Linked DNA regions of Homo sapiens: regions 1, 2 and 4 are each linked to region 3. The links are contacts of gene promoters, found by promoter capture Hi-C in blood cells and fetal thymus (Javierre and others, 2016). All regions are on one chromosome and are shown on one strand. Each heading gives the region's core, a stretch centred on a gene start or on the middle of the fragment in contact. The rest is flanking DNA. Distances are from core to core; before and after follow the strand shown.

Evidence for each region. The method cuts DNA at HindIII sites, captures the fragments that hold promoters and counts their contacts. A CHiCAGO score of 5 or more calls a contact.
Region 1: a fragment that was not itself captured here is called in contact with the fragment with the promoter of ZFP69B in region 3 in 1 of 17 cell types (total B cells); the score reaches 6.2 in total B cells.
Region 2: a fragment that was not itself captured here is called in contact with the fragment with the promoter of ZFP69B in region 3 in 2 of 17 cell types (neutrophils and naive B cells); the score reaches 5.4 in neutrophils.
Region 4: a fragment that was not itself captured here is called in contact with the fragment with the promoter of ZFP69B in region 3 in 10 of 17 cell types (naive B cells, total B cells, total CD4 T cells and 7 more); the score reaches 7.5 in naive B cells.

What each region holds. Positions count from the first base shown.
Region 1 is chr1:40,201,307-40,205,679 of GRCh38, forward strand. It overlaps RLF (RLF zinc finger), which reads left to right. Exons shown (of 8, transcript NM_012421.4): 5 at 1,106-1,308. Among named protein-coding and RNA genes, the nearest start is that of RLF, 42 kb to the left of the region's middle. The HindIII fragment of the contact is 1,944 bases long and covers 431-2,374 here.
Region 2 is chr1:40,231,820-40,236,150 of GRCh38, forward strand. RLF (RLF zinc finger) reads left to right here. Exons shown (of 8, transcript NM_012421.4): 8 at 3,973-4,331. Among named protein-coding and RNA genes, the nearest start is that of TMCO2, 14 kb to the right of the region's middle. The HindIII fragment of the contact is 2,314 bases long and covers 700-3,013 here.
Region 3 is chr1:40,449,222-40,453,529 of GRCh38, forward strand. It overlaps ZFP69B (ZFP69 zinc finger protein B), which reads left to right and starts at 1,255. Exons shown (of 5, transcript NM_023070.3): 1 at 1,255-1,867. The coding sequence starts at 1,741. ZFP69B-DT (ZFP69B divergent transcript) reads right to left here and starts at 818. Exons shown (of 5, transcript NR_198977.1): 1 at 599-818. RefSeq lists a silencer at 874-1,133 and an enhancer at 1,349-2,548. The HindIII fragment of the contact is 15,908 bases long and covers 1-2,347 here.
Region 4 is chr1:40,280,643-40,284,647 of GRCh38, forward strand. ZMPSTE24 (zinc metallopeptidase STE24) reads left to right here. Exons shown (of 10, transcript NM_005857.5): 7 at 701-885. Among named protein-coding and RNA genes, the nearest start is that of ZMPSTE24, 24 kb to the left of the region's middle. The HindIII fragment of the contact is 308 bases long and covers 1,546-1,853 here.

The DNA of each region.
Region 1 (4,373 bases), core at 153-2,652, 250 kb before region 3:
ACTTGTTGGATATTTACTATTCAAAAATTGAGGGCTCGGCCGGGTGCGGTGGCTCATGCCTGTAATCCCAGCACTTTGGGAGGCCAAGGCGGGTGGATCATGAGGTCAGGAGATCGAGACCATCCTGGCTAACAACGGTGAAACCCCGTCTCTACTAAAAATACAATAAATTAGCCGGGCATGGTGGCGGGCACCTGTAGTCCCAGCTACTCGGGAGGCTGAGGCAGGAGAATGGCGTGAACCCGGGAGGCGGAGCTTGCAGTGAGCCAAGATCGCGCCACGGCACTCCAGCCTGGGTGACAGAGCAAGACTTCATCTCAAAAAAAAAAAAAAAAAAAAAATTTGAGGGCTCATCCAGAGCACTGTACAGTCAATGCCAAGTGCCTAATATTCAGTACAGCTCAGAAGTACTGAGCTTCAGTACTTCTGAAGCTTTCAGAGTAGCATTTTCCAAAGTGTGTACTGAACCAGGAACACATGTTTTACAGGTTACTAATATGTATAAAAGGGTTCTCTGGTCAAATCAGTTTAGGAAACATTGGGTTTTTAAATAAAAGTGAACAGTTTTCTTTATTGCAGGACTGTTCAGAGATTTGACCAAGGAATCCTTTTTTTTTCTAGGACTATCTCTCAGGTCTTTTGGTCGGTGGAACACACTTTGAGAAATGCCTGGTTTAGAGGAAAGAGCACCACTGGCTTTGGAATCCTTGGCAAGTTACCTAACTTCTGTGAATATTAATTTTCCTAACCTTAGACTGGGGATAATAATACTTGCCTTGGTGGTGGTGTGAAGAATAAATGAGAGGTATATAAAAATATGCAGCTTAAAACTTGATGTCTCGTAAGCATTCAGTTGATAGTTGTTAATATTACATAGGTTACTTGCTTCATTTCTTGCATTTATGCTTATAGTTCATTTCACTATTTCTTAATTTTCCTCTCATCTCTATTAGATGAATATTGAGACCAGAGTAAACTTCTCATTTATATAAACTAAATTTTTATTAACTAAAAATCAAATAAAAAGATCTCAAACTTTCATCTTAGCAAGTCTGACATGTTATGTGGTATGTTGTCAAACTGTTTTATTTTTCATTTTTTCTAGTCAATAAATTGATTGCACAAGAAGGACCTTCCTTTCTGCAAATGCGAATAAAACATTTGTTGAAATCTAACTGCATCCCCCAGGCTACTGCTTTATCAAAACTATGTGCAGAATCTAAAGAAATTTCAAATGTGTCATCTTTTCAGCAAGCCTATATCACATGTTTATGTTCTATGCTCCCTAATGAAGATGCTATTAAGGAGGTGAGTAAATAATTGTTGTCATTCAAACTTGGTATTAATTTAATAGATTTATATATATATTGCATGGTTTATTTTTTCCCTTTAGAATGAAAACCAAGATTCATTTTTTTCAGGCTACCAAAATGTATGATTTTAATTGTATATTTAACTGCTCGACAGATAGAATGTAATATTTTAGAGTGAATTTGAAAAGTAGATAACTAAAGAATATACAGAGGCATGTTTACTTATTTGGGTGATGATTTGCTGTGAAATCTTTAAATGTGAAAGTTGTTTTTTCTTTTTAAAGTAATGACGTCTCCATGTTTGGGGAATGCAGAAGTTGTTAATCATGGCATCAAGGGATAAACTAAAGAAAATGGCACTTAATTTTAGCTTAAGTTACTTTATATATTTAATTTTGTAAGCAGAAAAGTATAGGACTCTAGATTCCATGACTACATCCTGAACAATTAAGTGGCCAAACTGGATATCATGGAAAATAAGGGTTGAGTCTTTTTTTTTTTTTTTTTTTTTTTGAGACAAGGTCTTGCTCTGTCACCCAGGCAGGAGTGCAGTGGTGCAATTTCGGCTCACTGCAGCCTCTGCCTCCCGGGTTCAAGTGATTCTTGTGCCTCAGCCTCCCAAGTAGCTGGGACTAAAGGCATGCGCCACCATGCCTGGCTACTTTTTGTACTTTTTAGTAGAGACGGGGTTTCACCATGTTGGCCAAGCTGGTCTTGAACTCCTGACTTCAACTGATCCACCTGCTTCAGCTTGTACTACTAAAAGTACAAACATTAGCCAGGCATGGTGGTGGGCGCCTGTAATCCCAGGTACTCAGGAGGCTGAGGCAGGAAAATCGCTTGAACCCGGGAGGTGGAGGTTGCAGTGCATCGAGATCGTGCCACTGCACTCCAGCCTGGGTGACAAGAGTGAGACTCCATCTCAAAAAAACAACAACTATTTTATGTATCAGATTGCATCCTTTAAAAAAAAAAAACCTCAATTATTATGTTTCTTAAATTTGGAGTTAGACTTCTCTAATGGTTTTTGACATTATACAGAAAAAAACTAGAGATTCTTAAGCTTTATTTCATCATCTACCTTTAATCCTCTTATCTGCCATTCAATTCTGACATATGGATTCTTACTCTGAACTGAAATTTTTTATTAGATGTAGTAGTCCCAAGGATCTGGTTTTATGCTGTAGTAATTCTGAAACTTTTACTTGTAATATCTTACTCTCCAAATACAATTGTCTATCTTTCTACCTTACTCCCTTTAATATACAGTCTCCACCAGGATCAATCAAGATCTATTGATCTTGTCACCTTTTCATTTTCCCTTATCCCCCTTATGTATTCACTTCCCTATTTAACTCTGCTTTGTCATTGTCAGATCATCATTATCACTCTCAAAGAGCGAGAGGTCCTCTCTCTTTTTTTTTTTTTTTTTTGACAGAGTCTCGCTCTGTTGCCCAGGCTAGAGTGTAGTGGCGCGATCTTTGCTCCTGGGTTCAAGCAATTCTCCTGCCTCAGCCTCCCGAGTAGCTGGGATTACAGTCGCCCACCACCACGCCTGGCTAATTTTTTTGTATTTTTGTAGAGATGGGGTTTCACCATCTTGGCCAGGCTGGTCTTGAACTCCTGACCTCATGATCCACACGCCTCGGCCTCCCAAAGTGCTGGGATTACAGGCGTGAGCCACTGCTCCCGGCCACTGGTCTCTCTCTTAATTGTACTTGTTTGACTACCAGTATCCTGATTATCCCTAAATCTTCACCTACTCTATGTGTTTACCTGCACTCATGGGGCCAAATTTACATGGAGAAAAATCTGCCAGCTAATTTTACTCCAGGCTAGAGTGTGGTGGCGCACACTGCTCACTGCAGCCTCAAAATCCTGGGCTCAGGTGATCTTCCCACCTCAGCCCCTGGAGTAGCTAGGACCACAGAAACATGCCACCATTCCCGATTAATTTATTTTTTATTTATTTTTTATTTTTTTGGAGAGACAGGGTCTTGCCATGTTGCCCAGGCTGGTCTCGAACTCCCAGGGTCAAATGATCCGTCCACCTCAGCCTCCCAAAGTGCTGGGATTACAGGTGTGAGCCACTCACTGCACCCAGCCTATATTTCTTTAGCCCATTCATTCTCCCACTCTTAGATAGTTGCATAGTTTTTTCTTATTCTTCAAAACTATACTGTAATACTTTCTGCCCTGTTTCACTCTCTGTTGCTGAACTTAACTCCCTATTTCTCTGAAAAAAATTGAAGCGCTGAGAAGATAAATAAGAGAATTTTCATAAGCTCTGTCTCTGAAACATCTATTCATCTACCAGCATCTATGAATGTACATCTTCTCTTCTGTTACTAGAGATAAATTATATCTGTTCTCCTAGCTAAGGCCAGCCTCCCTCACTTCTGTATTTCAATTGATGTTGTCTCCCTTAAGGATAATGCTACAGCAGTTCTCCTTTTCTCTATTACATCATCGATTTCCCTGTCTCTGTTATAACCACCCCATTGGCATTTATGCTATTATTTATTCTGTCCTTAAAAAAGAGCTCTTCTTAGGTCCAGAGGTGGTGGCTCATGCCTGTAATCCCAGCACTTAGGGAGGCCGAGGCACAAGAATTGCTTGAGCCCGGGAATTGCTTGAGCCCAGGAGGCAGAGGCTGCAGTAAGCTGAGATCACGCCACTGCACTCCAGCCTGGGCAACAGAACAACAGAACGAGACTCTGTCTTCAAAAAAATAAAATAAAATAAAAATAACGCTGCTTTAGATCCTGTTTCTACTTTTAGCTACTGCCCCATTTCCTTCTGGCTTTTTAAGCATAATTTCTTTAACAAATTGTCTTAATTTACTATCGAACATTTTCCTTCCTTCTTTTTTTTTTTTTTTTTTTTTTGGGACAGAGTCTCGCACTGTCACCCAGGCTGGAGTGCAGTGGCACGATCTTGGCTCGCTGCAAGCTCCGCCTCCCAGGTTCACGCCATTCTCCTGCCTCAGCCTCCCGAGTAGCTGGGACTACAGGCGCCCGCCACCATGCCCGGCTAATTTTTTTTGTATTTTTAGTAGAG
Region 2 (4,331 bases), core at 607-3,106, 220 kb before region 3:
TATAATTAATCAGAAACAAATTGATGGTCAAACAAGTTAGGTGATATTTATTTCTAATTACTGTGAATGAAGTTGTGTCTCCTGTCACGTTAAGAACATTTTAAGAGGCCAGGCACGGTGGCTCAAGCCTGTAATCCCAGCACTTTGGGAGGCCAAGGCGGGTGGATTACTTGAGCTCAGGAGTTCGAGACCAGCCTGGCCAACCTGGTGAAACCCCGTCTCTACTAAAAATACAAAAATTAGCCGGGCATGGTGGCGGGCGCCTGTAATCCCAGCTACTTTGGAGGCTGAGGCAGGAGAATCGCTTGAACAGGGAAGGCGGAGGTTGTGGTGAGCCAAGATTGCACTGCTGCACTCCAGCCTAGGTGACAGAGTGAGACTTGGTCTTTTTTTTTTTAAAAAAAAAAAAAAGAACATTTCAAGGTAACTATAGAACTTGCCTGTTTAAACAATTACTTTATAATTGGCCATTAGAACATTTTGTTTTGTTTAAATCTTTAATAAAGGTACTAATTTTCTATTGTTGAATAACATCACAAAAATTAATACTTAAAACAATGTCCGTTTTTATCAGTTCAGTTTTGTAAATCAGAAATCCAGCACAATGTGGCAGGATTCTCTTCTAAGATTATCATATTGGCTAAAATGTAGTTTGCCAGGCTAAGTTCTATCAGAGGCTCTGTGGAAAATCCACTTCAAAGCTTATTCTTATCGACAGGTTTCAGTTCCTGTGGTTGTAGGACTAAGGTTTCTGTTTTCTGGCTGGCTGCCAATCAGGGTCTGTTCTCAGGTGCTAGAAGCTACACTCAGTCTTTACCTCTGTTTTCAAGCAGCAAGGGTGCAACAAGTTGGTGCTTGAAACCTGACATCCTCCATCTCTGACTTTAGTTTTCAGTTTTTGGTTGAGACAGGTCTCGCTCTGTCACCCAGGCTGTAGTGCAGTGGTGCGATCATAGCTCATTACAGCTTCAAACTCCTTGGCTCAAGCAATCCTCCCGTCTCAGCCTCCAGAGTAGCTGAGATTGCAGGCGTGTGCCACTATACCTGGCTTTTTCTTTTTTGGCGGGGAGCAGTGGTAGATACAGGGTCTTGCTTTGTTGCCCAGACTGGTTCTGAACTCCTGGCCTCAAGCAATTCTCCCACCTCAGCCTTCCAAAGTGCTGGGATTATAGGTGTAAGCTGCCCCACCTGCTTGAACTTGGGAGGCAGAGGTGGCAGTGAGCCGAGATCACACCATTGCACTCCAGCCTGGGCGACAGAGTGAGACTCTGTCTCAAAAAAAAAAAAAAAAGCAAAGATTGAATGACTTGGCTATATCCTATGTGCGCTTGCAACAGTATGCCAAGTCACTCTTGATCCCTCACCTTCCTAGTTTAAGACCCACCAATTTCTTCAAAATTCAGCTCCACATTGCATATCCTGATTCACATTTATTCACTACTCCTTTCAGTAACTTTTTGGCATATCTGTTCAGAATATATAATAGTATTTCTGGTTACTTTTCTTTGAAAAATGTTGTTAGTGATTTTTCAAATGTTACCATCCCAGCCAGATTAGGCTGTTTAAGAAAGAATGGCCATTCTTTGCTGTCCACCTCACAGTCTTCCAAAAGGAGTTAGTAACTTGTTGAGAAACTGAATTATTTTAAAATTTAGCTGACTTTCCCCAAGTCCTCTCTGCTCTTACTTACAAATGATAAACTTCTATCACATCATCCTAATAAGTCAAGAGACCCATGGTCTAGTCCTGTGGAGCCACTAAAGCAACATGGCCTGTTTTACTTGGACTACATTCCAAATGAGAGGGAGAAACTTCTATATTCTTTAGGCCACTACTGTTGTGGGAAGTCTGCCACTCACAACAGAACCAGATCCTAGCTGATACAGGCTAGGTAATGCCTCTCTTTCAAAAAAGCTAGAGTCTCAGCTCGTCTGAAAGGTAGGGAGTTATCTCAATTGATTGTTCACAGTCAGTTACAGACTGAACTCTGTTCTACTCTTTCCCCCTTCTCACTATTACACTTGACTAGTTTTAAAGAAAAAAAAGTTGGAGTCTCAGTTTGCAAGGGATTCTACACTCACTCACTCCCTTTTCACCTACCAGTCCACATCTCTTCTACTCTTCAGGCCAAATATCTTCTTTTTTTTGAGACGGAGTCTCACTCTGTTGCCCAGGCTGGCATGCAGTGGCGTGATCTCAGCTCACTGCAACCTCCGCTTCCCAGGTTCAAGGGATTCTGATGCCTCAGCCTCCCAAGTAGCTGGGGCTTTGGGCCTGCATCACCATGCCTGGCTAATTTTTTGTATTTTTATTAGAAATGGGGTTTTGCCATGTTGGCCCTGCTGGTCTTAAACTCCATGCCTCAAGTGATGTGCCTGCCTCGGCCTCCCAAAGTGCTGGGATTACAGGTGTGAGCCACTGTGCCCGGCCTAAATGCTTTTAAGTCCTTGCTCCTCTGCTCACTAGTTAGTGACATTGGGCAACTTAACGTTCTGAGTGTTGGGGGTTTTTTGTCTATAAAATGAGGATAATACGTGCAAAAAAGTTTATTTCAAATAAGTGCCTAGGCTGTAGTAGGGGTTCTGTAAATCAATGACAGTGATTTCTTTGTGTTCCCAGCATTTAGAATGAATGATGCCCAACACAGAATTAAATGCCTGGCAAATTGTTTACTGATTTAAACAGTGGAATTTACTCCATTATTTTACATTGTATTCTGTTAAATAGTTACAATGTGCCAGCGTTATTATTTCATCTTTATAACCTTAGGAGGAAAATCTGTTATTAACATTACTGTTATCATTTTACCAATAAGGAAACTGAAGTTTAGAGGTTGAGAACTTGTCACTTGTTGTGAAGCTGGGGTTCAAAGGCAGTCAAAGTCTGATTCTAAAGTCTCTGCTCATAGCAGTGCGTTTTAAGCCACTCTGACATATCTTGCTTTTCTTTGCTCATGTCATTTTTGTATTTTATTTCAGCCTCTCAGATAAAAAGAGTTATCTTGTATGTACCAAGCTTTTATCACATATGACCAGGTCTTCCTAATTTTAAACTAGTTTCTGAGAACCTGCTGCCATAGCAAGATTTCTGATTTCTGTTTTTTCCCTGGAAAGCTGAGATTCAGTACACCTGTGACGGTGACTATAAATTACCAGATTCTTTCAGGAGGAAATGGAAAGGATCATTTATTTTATCTTTGAAGTTTTGAAAAATCCAAGTGTTCATGATAGAGAGAATTTTTTTTTTTTTTTTTTTTTTTGAGACGGAGTTTTGCTCTTGTTGCCCAGGCTGGAGTGCAATGGTGTGATCTTGGCTAAACTGCAACCTCCACCTCCTGGGTTCAAGCGATTCTGCTGCCTCAGCCTCCGAGTAGCTGGGATTACAGGCATGCACCACCACACCTGGCTAATTTTGTATTTTTAGTAGAGACGGGGTTTCTCCGTGTTGGTCAGGCTGGTCTCAAACTCAGGTGATACACCTGCCTCGGCCTCCCAAAGTGCTGGGATTACAGGCGTGAGCCACCGTGCCCAGCCAAAGAGAATTTCTTAAATTGAATTTAATCTTAGACTCACATCTATACCTGTGTTTCCTGTTGCTGCCATTTTAAACCCTGCCCCTCTACTCAACATCATTCTATTTTGAATCCTCCAGTGACCTTTTTTATCCTGAATTTCTTTGGATTCACATGCATTTATTGTTTATGCATTCGGGGTACAGATAAATTCCTTGGAAGTAAGGAACTGCTTTAATACACAGTGCCTAGTAAATGTACATTGTTCGTAGTTGTAGCATCTAATTTAGTTCTTTGCATGTTGAGACAAGAAATATCTAAATGTAACTTTCATGAAGAAAGATTTAAGATAAAATTTAGGAACTCTAAAAGTTTTTACAAGCTAAAATTCCTTATCAGTGAAAGTTATATAATCTTTCTGTATGCAAAAAAATAATTTTTTTATCCTCTTTTACTTACAGGCACAAGATGCTGGTCTTGGGGTGTCAATTTTACTGTGTGTCAGAGCTCTTCAACTCAGATCAAGTGAAGATGAGGAAATGAAGGCATCAGTTTGTAAAACAATTGCCTGTCTTTTACCAGAAGATTTAGAAGTTAGACGAGCCTGTCAGCTTACAGAATTCTTAATTGAACCCAGTTTGGATGGATTTAATATGTTAGAAGAACTATATTTGCAACCAGATCAAAAATTTGATGAAGAAAATGCACCGGTTCCAAATTCTCTTCGATGTGAGCTCTTACTAGCTTTAAAAGCCCACTGGCCTTTTGATCCTGAGTTTTGGGACTGGAAAACTTTAAAACGACACTGCCACCAACTTTT
Region 3 (4,308 bases), core at 5-2,504:
CTCTAAATACTCTCCAAATACAATGGAGGTTAGGGCTTCAAGATAAATTTTGGGGAATCCAAACATTCGGTTCATAACAGCTAGCAAGTACTATAATTGTATTCTATTTCCTCATTTGTTGTTTTTGTAAACTGTTGATGTAGAAATGTATTTGGAGTGATGTACTCAAATTTTGTTGGAGGGAGAAAACTCAGCAATAAAACAGCATTACAGTATAATCGCTTTTGTGGAAAATATATAACAATGCATGAAATACGTTGTGTGTGTGCAGGAAAGGTTGTACACCAACTGTTAGCAAGGTTACCGCTGCTTGCTGAAATTACAGGCAATAATTTTTTTGTTTTTGTGTATTTTCTGGCATTTCAGAAATACAAGGTAAGCAATAAACATGAGAACTTTTATTGAATACTAGAAGAGAAAACTGTTGTGGTATTCTTTTAACAATATACCGGAATCCATTCAACTGTCTGCTGAGAATAAATAACTGGCATGTACATAATATTTAGGGAAAGTGCTATGGATTATTTTACACCAGTGTCGTTTCACCAAAAAACGTGATGCCGATGGCTCCCTTTTGTCACGGGTTTCAAAGGCTCACCCTAACGTTCACGTGCATTTTCCCAGCGGAGGAAAGATGGTTGTTCTTCATCAGAGTCTGGGGCCCAAGAACGCAGGCTCCATCTCCTCCCGCAGGAGCCAGGCTGATGATGCTCGCAGGGATCGGATACTGGGAGCCCCTGAACGCAGCCAACCCGGCGCGCACCGGTGGGGGCGTCTGCGCTGGCGGAGCGGCTCCCCGGGAGGACGCTGGGAACCATGCTCTAGCCAGCCGCTGCGCAGGCGCACTGGGCCCCGACTGCCCGCCGCAGCGCTACGTGGGAGCTTGGCCGCGCAGTGCCGGAACCCGGCTGCAGCGGTGGGAAGGCGGGGGCGTGCCGGCCCAGCGGGGAGAGGGTGAGCGGGTGGCTGTCCCGGGCTTGGGGAGCTGGGCGAGCCGGGAAGCGCGAGTTCCGCCCGCGGCCACCCTGTCGCGCGCGGTGCTCTCCGCAGCCCCGGAGTCGTGCTCAGACAAAGGCTGGGAGGCTAGGGCCGGGGGCGTTTTGCTTTGTGGGGAGGACTTAGCCTCTCATTTGGGGAGGAGGAGGCGGGGTCTAGCGGTTTCGCGGTTTGCTACAGCCGACTAGTGAAAGAGCTGGGATTCCAAATCCCCGGCTACTTTACACATAATTACTGCCCCAAACAAAGAATTGGGTTGTATTCGTCTCTTTGTGCTTCCTGACATGTGCGCGGTGCTTTGAATTTTGTGGGCTGTGTCTGCCCACCGTCTCCGTGTATCTTTTGGAAACATTTTACAGTGATCCATATATGTTCTAGCGTTCTGCCCTATGACTGAGCCTCCTTAGTCCTTTGCTGATTCTAATGTCTTCTGCTCAGCATCTGCAGGGGCTGCTGAGAGTAAATACTTGGCGCCTCCAGCTGCTGGCCAAGGAGACAGATGGAGCTCAAGTTGGGAGATACGCCCTGAGAGCCGATGATAGACACAAGTCCAGATCTCGGATTTTGATACTGTATGTTCCCTGGGTTCCTGAGAGAGGACATTGAGGAGTAGGAGTCGGCGATTAAGGAGATCGGTACAATTGGGAAGCCTCCTGTCAGAGCTTCCAGCAATTTCCTCATCAGAGGTGGACAAGCCCTATGGGCTAAGACAGAGGGTCCTCAGAAAGGAGTGCGGACGCCGTCATGCTGCAGCAGCTCCTGATCACCCTGCCCACCGAGGCCAGCACCTGGGTGAAGTTGCGTCATCCAAAGGCGGCCACGGAGCGGGTGGCCCTGTGGGAGGATGTGACTAAGATGTTTAAAGCAGAAGGTAAGAATAAACTGATGGGTGGGAGGGAGGAAAAGCAGTCCCCTCTAGTGTGAGAAGGAATGAGTCACTTGAGTGGAAGCATCTCTTAGGGAGACGAGTGGGTGGAGGGTTTCCGGAGTTGTTGATTGTGGCTCCTAGTCTGGGGTTTTCCTAAGTAGTGGTGGTCTTTTCAGCCTAGGACCAGTATTTCAGTGTCATGGTTATGTATATTATTTATTTTCATCTTTCCCATGGCCATGTGGGGCAGGATGGACTTAACCTGATTTTTCTTATTCTAACAGTGGGGAAATGTAAATCAAATGGGAGGCCTGCCCAGGGTCACACAGGAACTTGGTGGCTAGGTCAGAAAGAGAAGCAGCAGGGGAAGTACCAGGTGAGCCTGGAGTAACTTGTGCTAGAAAGCAAGGAAGAGCTTAAAGACTATGGATATGTGTCAAAAGAGGCCAGGTTTAAGGGTCTCTCACTCGACAGATTTGGGAAAGCTTAAGTATCCAAACTGATGGTAACACCTTGAATAAGTAAAATTCCACATGATCACCTTGACACTTAAAATAGAGAAAGACGTGGGGGGGGGGGAATTCATTTGCAAACATTGGAGGTAATTAATACACTGATTCCTTACTTTGAAAAATAGGTTATTATGGGAATGAATGTGCATTTACCTTGCCTTTTAGATCCTCTTCAGTTGGTGAGGGAAAGCTTTTTACAGAAAATGCGTGCCAATAATGAAGGTAGAAAGAGGCCAGGTGTGGTGGCTCATGCCTGTAATCCCAGCAATTTGGGAAGCCAAGGTGGGCGGATTGCTTGAGACCAGGAGTTTGAGGTCAGCAGTTTGAGACCAGCCTGGCCAACATGATGAAACCCCATCTCTGCTAAAAATACAAAAATTAGCTGGGCGTGGTGGCACATGCCTGTAATCCCAGCTACTCGGGAGGTTGAGGCACGAGAATCGCTTGAACTAGGAAAGGGGAGGTTTCAGTGAGCTGAGATGGCGCCACTGCACTCCAGGCTGGGTGACAGAGCAAGACCTTGTCTCAAAAATAAATAAATAAATAAATAAATGTAGAAAGAATGATAGAATCTTTTACCGTAAATAAAATAATTGAAAGGTTAATGGGGAACAGATACTCACATGATATCAAAGTATTATCCCCTCAAATTACTTACTAAATGGCAAGGAATGAACATAATTTTCCAATAGTGAGGTGTGGTGGTCACAGTTTTAATCAAATGTCTCAGTAATGGGATAGCCGGGCATTTTATACTTTGCAGATACTGTAATATAAAGCACCTGGTACCACCTACAAGGTATTCCTACCAAAAATGTTGAACATGATCCTAAATTAAGTTTAAAGACTGAACTGCTGGTTTACAGAAAATACAGGGGATGGAGAAATGAGATAAACCTCACATTGAGGATACAGTCAGACTGTTCTTGTATCTTAAAAAGACAACATCATGAAGAAAGGGGAAGTACTTATTCTAGAGTAAAAGAGACTAGAGGTAACAACCACTTTGAATGTGTGAGCCTTGATTAACTCCTGGTTTGGAAAAAATCCAGAATAAAAGTTGAGGAAACAGTTGAGGAAATCTGAATATGGACTGAATATTTAGATGATACTATGGAATTATTGTTAATTTTCATAGATTTAATAAATAGTACTGTGGTTGTACAAGAGAAGATCCTTATTTGAAATATTTAGGGATAAAGTATTATGATGCAGACGACTTTGAAGTGCTTCAGAAAAAATGTAGATAGGTAAAGCAAATATGGTAAATATTAACAATTGTTGAATCTAGATGTGGATGTATAGATGTTCAATATTCATGATAAAAAGTTGGAATAAAATACAAAGACAGTTATTCATGTGCCTTAATTCCTAGTGGTTTTTTTTTTTTTTTTTTCCTGTCACCCAAGCCGGAGTTCAATGGCTCGATCTTGGCTTATTGCAACCTCTGCCTCCCGGGTTCAAGTGATTCTCCTGCCTCAGCCTCCCAAGTAGCTGGGATTACAGGCGCCTGCCACCACGCCCAGCTAATTTTTGTATTTTTAGTAGAGACGGTGTTTTACTATCTTGGCCAGGCTGGTCTCCAACTCCTGACCTCGTGATCCACCCACCTCAGCCTCCCAAAGTGCTGGGATTACAGGCTTGAGCCACCGGGCCTGGCCTGTAGTGCATATTTTTAATACCTCAATTCAGCCAGTGTTACTTAAATTCTAGAAAGCTGGCAGTGTGTTATGTGTAGCACTTTAGCAGATGGAGAAAAATGAGCAAGGTACAGTTTCTATCCATACCCTCATTAATACTCAACTGAGAGAGATAATTAATTATAAAAAGCAACCTGAGATAGATACTAGAATAGATATAAAAACCAAGCTTTTGGGAAGCATAGGAGAGAATAAACTTTCTTCTCATTAAGGGTGTCTGGGAAAACTTTAC
Region 4 (4,005 bases), core at 450-2,949, 170 kb before region 3:
CACGAACTCCTGACTTCAAGTGATCCGCCTGCCTCAGCCTCCCAAAGTGCTGGGATTACAGGCATGAGCCACTGCACCCAGTTGAATTTGCTTTTTGTCTAATATAATTTCCCTTATCTAAAATAAATATAAAATAAACAGCAAGTAATGTCATTAGCAAAAAACATAAAGTGAGAAATGTGCATTAAAATGATGTATAACATAACCATATTTATTTAAGAATGTATTCCAATATCAAACAGCAAATTTCAACAATGCAAAAACCGCAATTACTTTTGCACCAACCTAATACATGCACATTTTTTCTTGACGATAATGGAACCTGATATACGTGAAGTTTTGTATCCTTCACAATATATTGGTGAGCTTTTTCTTGTTAAAATTCTTTGGAAGTATAATTTTTTTCTGGCAGCTTAAAATTCCATTTCATAGTTTTACTATAATTGAATCATTTGTAACTGTTGGATGTTTAGGCTTTACTTATTTACTTACTGCTATAAAGCTGTGATGAGCACATTTATTGGCAAAAAACAGACACTCTCCACTGCTGGTGGTGAATTATGTTGATATGATTTTTCTTCACATATTAAATGATTTGAAAATGTTAATGTCCTTTCCAGTAATTCAATTTCTAGGAGTCTCTCCAAAGGACCCCAAACTTTTTAATTATATTCCATGCTTTGAACTGTCTTTTCCTTAGGATCTAAACGCTCTTCCCACAGCAATGCTTATTTTTATGGCTTCTTCAAGAACAAGCGAATAGTTTTGTTTGACACTCTACTAGAAGAGTACTCTGTACTAAACAAAGACATCCAGGAGGATTCTGGCATGGAACCCCGCAATGAGGAAGAAGGGAACAGTGAAGAAATAAAAGCTAAAGTTAAAGTGAGTTATTTTTTCCTAAGAGATTCTACCTTAGTTTTTATACACAGTTCCTGTGACAACTCAAAATAACATCAATTTCTAGGCAGTGAGTGTTGAATTCAGGGAGACTATCAGATGAAAACCATGGCTCCTTTATAGTTCTGGTATTTAGGAGAGATCACCACTATTATTACATGCTAACTACCTTGCAAGCTTTTATAGAATGTGGATATTAAAATTGGAAGCTCTTATAAGAAAATTCATATGATTATAAGCTATCTTTAAAACAGGAACTTGTGTGTATATATATATATGTGTGTGTATATATATATATAATTTCTTATGTGTTTATGATCAAAGAATTCCCACAAGCAAGATAAAGAGAAGATAAACATCTAATTTTTAGCTTTATTAAGACAGTAATTGTAGGCTTTGGCAATGGAGAGACTTGGATTTGAATCCTGGTTCTGTCATTTAGTAGCTTTGTATCCTTGGATACGTTGTGTAATTTAGTCTGTTTTATTTGTTTAACACCCATTTATGAAATGTATACTCTGTGCTGAGAGACTTTACTTGGCACTAGGTACACAAAAATAAAAAGGAATACCTTCCTCTTAAGCTTACAGTCTAAAGGGGAAATAGTCATGCAATCACAGTACAATACGTGAATTGCTACTGTCAAGCTTTAGATTCTAGATATAGTAACTGGAGCACAAGAAAAGACATTTCTCAAATCTGACATGAGAGTCTGAGAAAGCTGCTTCTGAATCCTTTTCGTGGATAAGATTGACTGATATTGATTAGCAGAATTTAAAGTATCAAGACTAAATGGGGGAGAGGGGACAATGATAAGAAACAATACAAACTGTCAGAAATGATCATCAGTATTTGTATGTGTGATGGAATGTGCCATTGCCTTTGGTGTCATACAGAGATGATTTTAGATGCCTGTTCACTCACTGTCTGTGTAACTCTGTGCAAGTAAGTTAAGCTTTCATTTATTTATGTATTTATTTATTTTGAGATGAGGTCTTGTTATGTTTTCCAGGCTGGTCGAACTGCTGGCCTCAAGTTACCCGCCTGCCTTGGCCTCCCAAAGTGCTGGGATTATAGGCGTGTGCCACCGCACCCCGCCAAGCTTTCTAAATCTTTGATTTCTTAACTGAAAGATGAGGCCAGTAGGGTTTCTCAAGCCCCACGCTATTTTTTTGAGCCAGATAATTTTTTTGTTGTGGGAGGTATCTTGTGCATCACAGGATGTTTAGCAGCATCCCTGGTCTCTCCCCACTAGGGGCCATTTCCCCTACAACCTCTACAAATTGTAACAACAAAAATGTCTCAGAATATTGCCAGATGTCCCCTAAAGGTAGCGGTGGGGCCGAGTCTCCCCTGGTTGAGAAATACTAGGCTAAAGATACCTACATTTTAGGGTTTTGAAGATTAAATGAAATAATATGTGTGAAATACCTTGTACTCTCTACCCAAATGTAGAGAGTACCAGAAAATGATTAGCATCTGAGCATCTGTTTTGACACTAAAAACAGGTTCTAGTAAAGTACCTAGCCTGTTATAAATACGTAGATGAAATAAAATTCTGTGAAGGGATTAGAAGACATCTTAAAGTCATCTTATAAATAGGAAAACTGAAGTCCAGAAAGAATAACCCAGTGATAACACTAGAGAATCATGCAAGTTTAGAAAGTTAATCTGCTTATGGTCAGGCACTGTGGCCCATACCTGTAATCCCAGCACTTTGGAAGGCCAAGACAGGCAGATAACTTGAGGCCAGGAGTTCGAGACCAGCCTGGCCAACATGACGAAACCCCTGTCTCTACAAAAAAATACAAAAATTAGTTGGGCATGATAGCGCACGCCTGTAATCCCAGTACTCAGGAGGCTGAGGCACAAGAGTTGCTTGAACCTGGGAGGTGGAGGTTACAGTGAACTGAGATCCTGCCTCTGCACTCCAGCCTGGGTGACAAAGTGAGACCCTGTCTTAAAAAAAAAAAAAAATTGCTGATCCTTTTGTTACTTTTTTTGTTTTTGTTTTTGTTTGCTTTTCTGGAAGTTTGTTAGATCTTTCTCTGTTTCAGTGTTCTAAAATTTCACATACCTTGATGGGGATCTGTTTTCATCTACCATGTTATATGCATCACACTGTTTTCATCCACTGTAATATATGCATTAGGCCCTTTTATTCTGGAAATCGAGGTCCTATGGTTGTAAGAAATTTTCTGAAATTATTTTGTTGATTTTTCTCCTCTCCATTTTTTAAATTCTGTGTTTTCAGGGCTCCTCTTACTCGAGTGCTGGATTTGTTATACTGAACTCTCCTATCTTTTTAACCCTCTTTTCCATTTTAAATATATCTCTTTCTGCTTTCTAGAATTCCCTCATCATCTTCCAATCCTTTATTGTATTGAACTTTCTTTCTTTTTTTTTTTTTTTTTGAGATGTAGTCTTGCCCTCTCGCCCAGGCTGGAGTGCAGTGGCGCGATCTCAGCTCATTGCAACCTCCTCCCGGGTTCAAGCAATTCTCCTGCCTCAGCCTCCTGAGTAGCTGGGATTACAGGTGTGCACCAGCATGCCCAGCTAATTTTTTTTTTTTTTTTTTTTTTGGTATCTTTAGTAGAGACGGGGTTTCACCATGTTGGCCAGGCTGGTCTCAAACTCCTGACCTCGTGATCCACCTGCCTCAGCCTCCCAGAGTGCTGGCATTACAGGCTTGAGTCACCATGCCTGGCCTTCAGCTTGGATTTCTAATAATTTTTTTATCTGAATTTTCCAATTTACAGCATTTCGTTACTTTTTCTTAGGTGCAATGTCTTAATTTTCTAAACTTTCTCTTTATATAATTTATTTCATGTTGCTTTTTTTGTGGATCAGATCTTCTGTGTTAACAGCTTACCTCATATATCTGGTAAATCCTTGGTTATTTGCTCCTTAGTAAGAGAATGGGACTAGGCCCCACACAGCGGCTCATGCCTGTAATCCCAGCACTTTGGGAGGCCAAGGCAGGTGGATCACCTGCAGTCAGGAGTTCGAGACCAGCCTGACTCACATGGTGAAACCCTGTCTCTACTAAAAATACAAAAATTAGCCGGGTGTGGTGGCATGCGCCTGTAATCCCAGCTACTCAGG